Regions from separate parts of the Homo sapiens genome. Here region 1 is linked to region 2. Evidence: promoter capture Hi-C in 16 types of primary human blood cells and fetal thymus (Javierre and others, 2016). All regions are on one chromosome and are shown on one strand. Each heading gives the region's core, a stretch centred on a gene start or on the middle of the fragment in contact. The rest is flanking DNA. Distances are from core to core; before and after follow the strand shown. Region 1 holds the start of SLC2A13 (solute carrier family 2 member 13). Region 2 holds the start of ZCRB1 (zinc finger CCHC-type and RNA binding motif containing 1).

The links. The method cuts DNA at HindIII sites, captures the fragments that hold promoters and counts their contacts. A CHiCAGO score of 5 or more calls a contact.
Region 1: the fragment with the promoter of SLC2A13 here is called in contact with the fragment with the promoter of ZCRB1 in region 2 in 4 of 17 cell types (naive CD4 T cells, non-activated CD4 T cells, total CD8 T cells and 1 more); the score reaches 8.4 in naive CD4 T cells.

The regions. Positions count from the first base shown.
Region 1 is chr12:40,104,593-40,108,731 of GRCh38, reverse strand. It overlaps SLC2A13 (solute carrier family 2 member 13), which reads left to right and starts at 2,651. Exons shown (of 10, transcript NM_052885.4): 1 at 2,651-3,479. The coding sequence starts at 2,924. RefSeq lists silencers at 987-1,116, 2,498-2,747, 2,768-3,027, 3,048-3,117, 3,128-3,217 and an enhancer at 1,328-1,497. The HindIII fragment of the contact is 3,714 bases long and covers 1,408-4,139 here.
Region 2 is chr12:42,324,308-42,328,361 of GRCh38, reverse strand. ZCRB1 (zinc finger CCHC-type and RNA binding motif containing 1) reads left to right here and starts at 2,268. Exons shown (of 8, transcript NM_033114.4): 1 at 2,268-2,438. It overlaps PPHLN1 (periphilin 1), which reads right to left and starts at 2,195. Exons shown (of 10, transcript NM_201439.2): 1 at 2,133-2,195. RefSeq lists an enhancer at 2,523-2,572. The HindIII fragment of the contact is 1,786 bases long and covers 1,236-3,021 here.

The DNA.
Region 1 (4,139 bases), core at 1,402-3,901, 2.2 Mb after region 2:
TAGACTGCTTTGGAACATGTTACTGGAGGTTGTAAAGCAAATATCCTCAAAGCTGGAACTATAGAACTCACTGCAAACCAATAATGACTCTTGTAATTAAATTTGCCCTGCAATAGCAATTAATTATATTTCAAAAATACCCTTTAACACTCTCGTCAATGAGTAGTTGCTGCACCATTATCTGCTCTTCAAATGAGAGAAAAAAAAAAAAAGCAAAGCACAAGCTAATCTTGTGGTTTGTGGAAAGTTTTACGGTAAAACAATGGTGGTGTTGACATTCATCTCTTTTGATTCTCAGCCCATGGGTTTTCCAGTTCATCATAAACCGCAGCTGGGGCCGACTTTGGGGAACTCCATATTAGACTCACGCGCTGATGCTAAGTTGAACTGGACTCCCTCTCAAGGCTGAGACGAATTCTGTTTAACTCTCCGAAGCTTTTTTTTTTTTTTTGAGATGGAATCTCGCTCTGTCGCCCAGGCTGGATTGCAGTGGCACGATCTCGGCTCACTGCAACCTCCGCCTCCTGGGTTCAAGCAATACTCTGCCTCAGCCTCCCGAGTTGCTGGGATTACAGACGCGTGCCGCCATGCCCGGCTAACTTTTGTATTTTTAGTAGAGACAGGGTTTCACCACGTTGGCCAGGCTGGTCTTGAACTCCTGACCCCGTAATCCACCCGCCTCAGCCTCCCAAAGTGCTGTGATTACAGGCGTGAGCCACCGCGCCCGGCCTCCGATGCCTTTTTTTTCACGTCACATTTCTTTTAAAATGTAACCTGACCGCAGATACATAACTGTCCTAATACGGAACAGAATTTTTAAAGTAGTTTCTTGTTCTATGACCCCAAAGCTGAATTTCAAGCAAGGAATGCTCAGGAACCAAGATGTTCACTGCACCAGCTGAGACAAAAAGTAGTTTATTTTCATCTCAGCAAGAGGGAACTGTCAAAGAACCAGATGCTTCTCATCTGCGGAGCCCTTCTCTTCAGAAGCCGTGGGAATTGGCTCACCACCAGGGGGCGCAGTTTTACTATACCGTAGCATGCCGCGGAAAAGGCGCGCTCTCACCTGCAATATTGTCCGAGGTCTGAATATTAAAGAGTTCATTGCTGCAGATCTAAAGGCTCTCTCTGTTTAACTGATGCCTGGGAATGACGGTAGAGCCTTGCTTTAAAGCCAGACGATAACATTTAAATAGTTAAGCCGTCTGGCTTCATTAGTTTATTTTTCCTTGTTGCTGGCAAGGAAAGTACTATATTGTAGAGATAATCGTGACTGATAATCAAAACGAAAGCAGTTTTGACAAATTCTAATATAAGTTTTTACTGAAACAGGAATGACAAAATCCTTTTGTCTGAAAGGAAAAAAGTTATAGCTGCATGAAAAATAGGCCCCAGGCTAAGAAAGCTTTTGCTCAAATAAGGGAAATAAAAGAGCAGTGGAATTGTAGGAATAGAATCATATGATGCTTGACTTTTTGCCCTCAGCCTGAAGAATGAAAGCAAATTAGAGGCACAAAACATCTTTAGCAGTCCCAGCTGCTAGGAAGGCTGAGGCAGGAGAATCGCTTGAACCTGGGAGGCGGAGGCTGCAGTGTGCCGAGATAGCGCCACTGCACTCCAGCCTGGGCGACAGAGCGAGAATCTGTCTCAAAAACAAAACAAAACAAAACAAACTATCTTTAGCCCCTGATGCGCAACTGTATATTTTAAAAACATTTAAATTAAAGGGGGAAACAAACCCCAAATGAACCAACAACTGTTAATTCACTCAACAGTTTAAAAAATTGGTTGCAAATAACGTTATCTTTGCTTTGTTTCAAGTAAATGAGGCTGTTAAAACAGTGCCTCATGGAGGGCAACAGTGGGGATTCTCAGGAGAGAAGCTATCCTACCTTTTGGTTAGCATGTTGGGGCGGGGAAATGGAGACTGCCTGCCGAATCACAAATCAGGGTCTTGAGTTTTCTTTCTATTTCTGGGAATTACCCGTTACATGAGTGGAATGCATATATGTGAATTTTCTTTTACAGGTCGGGGATCCATGGAAGGAGGGTTTGGGATTCACCACAGAGATATGTTCTCTGTCCTCAAAGAATCAAATGTACCATTCCTTTAAAATAAGCATAAATTGAGGAGGGACTGGCGATGAGAGTGGAAACTAGCTATAGAAATGGGAGCATGCAGCCCTGAATTGCTCCAGAACAAACACATTTAATGCCAGGGAAGTAGACCACGCTGGGTAATGTCACAATACTATAAAAGGAAGGGTACTTGCTAGGTCCTATTCTAGGATATTTTTTCCAGCCCTCTCTCTAGGCTGCTGGAAGGACAGTGAGGCTGGTTTAGGTGCTCTCTCCCTCCTCTCCAAACACGGCAAACATTCTGGGTGGCTTCCCGTCTGGAAGCCTGTTGCCTGATGGCATCGCCACATTGGCTTGCTCCACCGCTGCAGCTCGGAAGGCAGGGTTAATTCCATACGGTTGCCAGAGCCCTAAATGAGGGAGCCTAGGTCAGAGGTCGCACCCACCGGGAGGGCGGGGTTTAGGGGTCCGGGGCGGGCTGAGCCTGGCCCCGCCCAAGGAGGGGGCGGGACGTTTCCCGGGCCCCGCCCCGCCGGCCCGGGGTTGCACGTGACCCGCGGTCCCGCCTCCCGCCCGCTCCGCAGCGCCAGCTCGGCAGGCGCGGGGCGTGAGTGTGGAGTGAGACCCGCCGGGCTCCAACTCCGCAGCGTCGGAGCGCGGCGGGCAGCAACTTTCTCCCCGGAGCGGCCGTGGCGGCGGCTGCTGCCGTGGCAGCCGGAGCGGAAGCCGGGAGGAAGAAAGCGGCGGCAGCGGCGGTTGCTCCCGCCGGCTCGGGCTGTCTAGCTCGCCGAGACTGCCGGCCCGCGGAGCCGCGTCCCCCCGGGCAGCCCCGGGCCCCTGCCCTATGTCCCGCAAGGCAAGCGAGAATGTGGAGTACACGCTGCGGAGCCTGAGCAGCCTGATGGGCGAGCGGCGCAGGAAGCAGCCGGAGCCGGACGCGGCGAGCGCGGCCGGGGAGTGCAGCCTCCTGGCTGCCGCCGAATCGAGCACCAGCCTGCAGAGCGCGGGCGCGGGCGGCGGCGGCGTCGGGGACCTGGAGCGCGCGGCGCGGCGGCAGTTCCAGCAGGACGAGACCCCCGCCTTCGTGTACGTGGTGGCCGTCTTCTCCGCGCTGGGCGGCTTCCTGTTTGGCTATGACACCGGGGTGGTGTCAGGGGCCATGCTGCTGCTCAAGCGGCAGCTCAGTCTGGACGCGCTGTGGCAGGAGCTGCTGGTGTCCAGCACGGTGGGGGCGGCTGCCGTCTCGGCGCTGGCCGGAGGCGCCCTCAACGGCGTCTTCGGCCGCCGCGCTGCCATCCTCCTGGCCAGTGCCCTCTTCACCGCCGGCTCCGCGGTGCTGGCTGCGGCCAACAACAAGGAGACACTGCTCGCCGGCCGCCTGGTCGTGGGACTCGGCATCGGTGAGTTCGGGCTCCGTGAAGGGCGCCCGGGATCCCATTGTCACCGCCCTTGACCCTGGGTGTTGCGTGCCTCTTGCCCATCGGGGTCCCCGTCTGGTCTCCCAGGGTCAGAGAATCCTCCACTTCTCTGGCCTCCAGAGCCCATCTGTTTGTTGGTCCAGCCTCCAAGGCTCTCCCGGGAGGTGGGAGGGTCGGGGGGGAGGGGGTGTCACTCTAGTCTCCCTCGAGCGCACGTGGAATCTTTGATAGGCCACGGACCAGTCAGTCCAAGTGGTTGTTGCCTCTCAGCACTTCCAGAAACCTAGCTGAGCACCAGCTCTTTCCTTGATCCAGCCTAACCTGATGCTGCTTCTTGAGCTTACGAGGGTCTCTGCTTTCCTGCACTGTCCCACCTTGCCTCTCCACTGCTAGCCCCTTTCGTTTTCTGGGGCTCCCAGCCTGGAACCTAGACCATCGTCAAGTTACAGTGAGATAATATTTAGAGTTAAGTAATTCTGGACTCTGAAAGGTTTATTAGCGACCCCTGCCCTCTTTGCTTATCTAGCATTTGTCTTTAGATGGCATCTCCTTTTGCTTTTATGCTTTTTCTATTGCCTTTCAGCTTTCATTCTTTTCCCAAGTAAATTCCATTCTCCTCTGTTTTTCCAACTTTTTCATTTG
Region 2 (4,054 bases), core at 1,019-3,518:
TTTTTATTAACCATAATAAATCCAAACTTCTATCTTCCATATGCCTCCTTCTATTATATCTAACCTTCTATTCTCTCCAAAAGCATATAATTATGCCTGTTTCCTTACTGTGCCACAAACAGACTAACACATACTACCACGGAGCTGTTTATTTTCCAAACGGGATATCTTTTTCCATTCTCTCATTCAACATCCAACGGTCCATCAAGGCCCAACTCAAAACCTATTATTCTCCACAAAGCCCATTATATAAACCCTACAAGACTTAAAACAGATTCCAAACTAGTGACTGATAGGCCATATGAGACTTGTGTTTGACCCACTTTTTTTTTTTTAATAAAATTCTATTCCACTGACAACATTTAAAAACTGGGAGAGGATGCTTTTTAAAAAATGGTATTTCCAACTTTTTTTGAAAAAATTAGATGTTCTGGCAAAACTGGGATCATATTCTCACATAGCCACAATCAGCTGTAGCTGAGTGGCAGGTGACCCCTTCTAAGGGTGAAGTATTCATTAACGTTAACTGCCTGATCTCTGCAGCATACCTTCAGCACCTGCAATCATTCAAGAAATAACTGACTGTCTTATGTGCCAAGAACTGTATTAGCTACTGGAGTTACAAAGATAAACGAGACAAACACAGTCCCTCACCGACAGTCTCGCTTAGTAGGGATGGCAAAGAAGCAATTAAGATACATGTGATAAATGCCGTGAGGGAAGTGCAGGACAGCTAAGAGTACATAGCAAAAATACCTAACTCTATGGAAGTTAGGGTATACCCCTCAAGTAAAGTGACAGCTAAACTCAGATCTTTAATAGAAGTTATCCAGAAAAAGATAGGAGGAAACAGGGAGCTCAAATGTCCCAGAGAGAGAAAAGAGCCTTTGTGAAGATACTGAGGGAAGAAAGTATTCTGAGGAATTGAAATCCGTTCAACATGGCTACAGCCATGCCCAACCTTTAAATGCAGGGTCAGAGAAAGGGCTCAACTGAAATGGCTGGCAGGAAAATCTACGTGTTATCAATAGTTAAGGTTAGGAGATGAAGGAGAATTTCACTAAAGAAGTTGAATATGTAAAATAGTTTAAGCAGGAAATAGAGGTTTCAGAAAGCACAGATGGGGTGTTGAGGGGTTAAATGGGGAAGAAACGAAGAAGCAGTGATAGCCTAAGTCGAAAGAAAGCACAAAGCAGCATGGAAATGAGACTATAGCACAGAAGACCACAGAAGCTTACATCTTGGGCGGTAACCAAGGATAACAGAGATGTAAAGCATGGTAAGTTTGGCTGGCCACAAGTATGCCTAGAGAATTAGTGCCAGCGGTCTCCTGTCGGCCACGGAGGCATTCAGGCCTCTCAAAATTCAGCTGCGCCCTGGATGGATTGTACTTCCGTCTCTATAGAAGACATCGGCTTCACTCTGGATTGATTGTGCAGGCTCCAGGAGAGGCTGTGGGTTCCAGGCTGCTGGAACGCAGGCTCCCAGGGAGTGGTTAGAGGCCTGGTCTGTATGTGCTGGTAGGCAGAAGTATAAATTACCTTGCATTACGTTCTGATTTTTCTGTAGGAATGGTGGGCATGTTATGGCCTCTTAGAGAAAAAGCAGTGCGTAGCCATTATAGATTTACAGGAAGAGAAAAGGTGCCAAGAAGATCAACACTTGTCCATACCCATACTAAAGATGAGTCATTCTGTGAATCCAACTCTCCCCAAGTTGACCTCGTCTCCCCAACTAGACTGAGATCTTCACCAGAAAACAAAACAAAACAAAACATAAAAGGTCTGTTTATTTTGTAGTTCCCAAAGTGCCTAATAGCTGGGTACCGTGAACACCTTCAGTAAAATTACCGACTTCCTGACTCCTCTCGGGTCACTGAAGTTACCTAGCTCAGTCGTCTTCTTGCATATTAAGGCGCTACAGAGAGGCGAACCCCTATCTTAGACTCAATACTTCCCTTTATTCCAAACTCCACTGCGTCTCTCCACCCTCAACCGCATGGGCAGAATTGTCACACAATTCAAAGGCAGGAGAATCCAGGACCCGACACAGAAAACTCCCGCCCACTCCCCCCCGTTTAGCAGCCCGCACACGCTCTGCATCCATCTCTGGGAAAGGTAAAAAGCGCTCACCGACTCTGGCCCTCCGGGAGACCCCGTAAATGCAGCCGTCCGCTCGCCGCCGTTATCCCAGGTAGGTACTTCCGGCGCGCGCAATGACGTTAGCGAAGCGCTCGCCTCTGGGCCCGCCTTCGGGGCCCGGATCTCAAACAGTCGGGAAGAAGCACCGTGGCTGCTATTATCTGCTCTCCGCGCCTGACCCCTCCCAGGACTCGTGATGCCAAGGCCGCTGCGAGCGGCTACGAAGAGTCGGGGTTGAGCCCCAGCTGAGCCGAGGGCTCGCACTCTTCTGGTCTCCCAGGCCCAACCCACCTGAAGGTAAACGCCTCCTCAGCTGCGGCCTTCTCTCCTGCGGGGCCCCCTCCCCAGACTCGGCTGCCAAAACGCTCTGCCCCTCTCTCCCGCCACCCTTTTTATTCCAGGACCTTAACCTCTGCCTGCCTTCGCGGCTCTCAGCAGAACGTGTAACGCATAGTTTCAAATGAGAAACTTAAAAAGCGACGTATCTATGTTGAGTTCCTGAAGTTTTCTAAATAATTCCCCCATAACACCAAACATGAGGCAGTTTTCTCATTCCTTCACGAATTGGCATGCCATAGAGTCAGTATTTTTCCATTTGTGATGGTTGATCTTCCCATCTCAAATACACACCGCACGCTCTTTTTAAATCAGAAATTTGAATTTGGTTGAGCCTGATATTTTCACGGTAATTTGCTGACTTTGTAAGATAAGATGTGAAAATTACTGATTACATTTGTAAACTTTATATACATATACACACATACCTACAGGTCTGTCTCTTCGAGGCACCAAGCCTATTTATATAATGTATCATTTCATAATTTGGCAATAAGCAAAATTAGCGTTTCGAAAGAAGTTTATATTGTCGATACATAAAGCTTAAATTTACTCCTTAACATCATACTAAAAGGGGAAAAGAAAATTTTCCTCTTAACACACCACTCCAGAGAAAAAAAATATTAAGACAAGCAAAAAAGGTACCCAGCCATAGTACAGGCATGCACAGCATAACAACTTTTTGATTAACAACAAACCACATATACCACAGTGGTCTCCTAAGAGTGTAATACATTGTACCATATTTTTAGTGTACGTTTTCTGTGTTTAGCTATGTAAATATTTACCATTGTGTTTCAACTGTCTACATTATTCACTACATTAACATGCTGTACAGGTTGTAGCCTAGGAGCAATAGGCTAGACCATCTAGGTTTGTCTCAGTACACCCTGTGATGTCTGCACTGTGAAATCACGTAACACTCAGAACATACCTCCTTCATTAAGCATAGCATGACTGTGTATTAGCAAAAATCAGTGGCTAAGGTTCTGTCTGAGTCCCCATGCTCTTTCTGACCTGGGTGAGCAAGGTGCAGGTAATGTACATATACAGTACATATTCAATAGAGCATTTTTTTTGCTCATGGTCTGAGTGGAAGTTAGGAGTAGCCTCAGGGTTTTTCCTTCATCTGTTCAAAACCCGTCTCCCTACCCATACAATCTGGCACTGAAAGTGTTGGTATAAAGAATACTTGAAAGAAGAAGAACCAAAAAAGAATTTTTTTTAAGTGGTGACTGGGAAAAAGGAATTCCTTAATTCAGCCTGCTGGAGTCATTGTTCCTAACTTCCTAAAATGTAAGGAAGGTGTACACATCTGGCATAATTAAATCGGTGATTGTTAATACTTTATTGGTTTTTGTTTTTTGTTTTTTTCCAAATAATACCCAGACTGGTCTGATGTATTGGTTTTATTTGGAATTAATAATACTTGGTTTAGGCCAGGTGTGGTGATTCATGCCTGTAATCCCAGCACTTTGGGAGGCTGAGGCAGGTGGATCATTTGAGGTCAGGAGTTCAAGACCAGCCTGACCAACATGGTGAAACACTGTCTCTACTAAAAATACAAAATTAGCCAG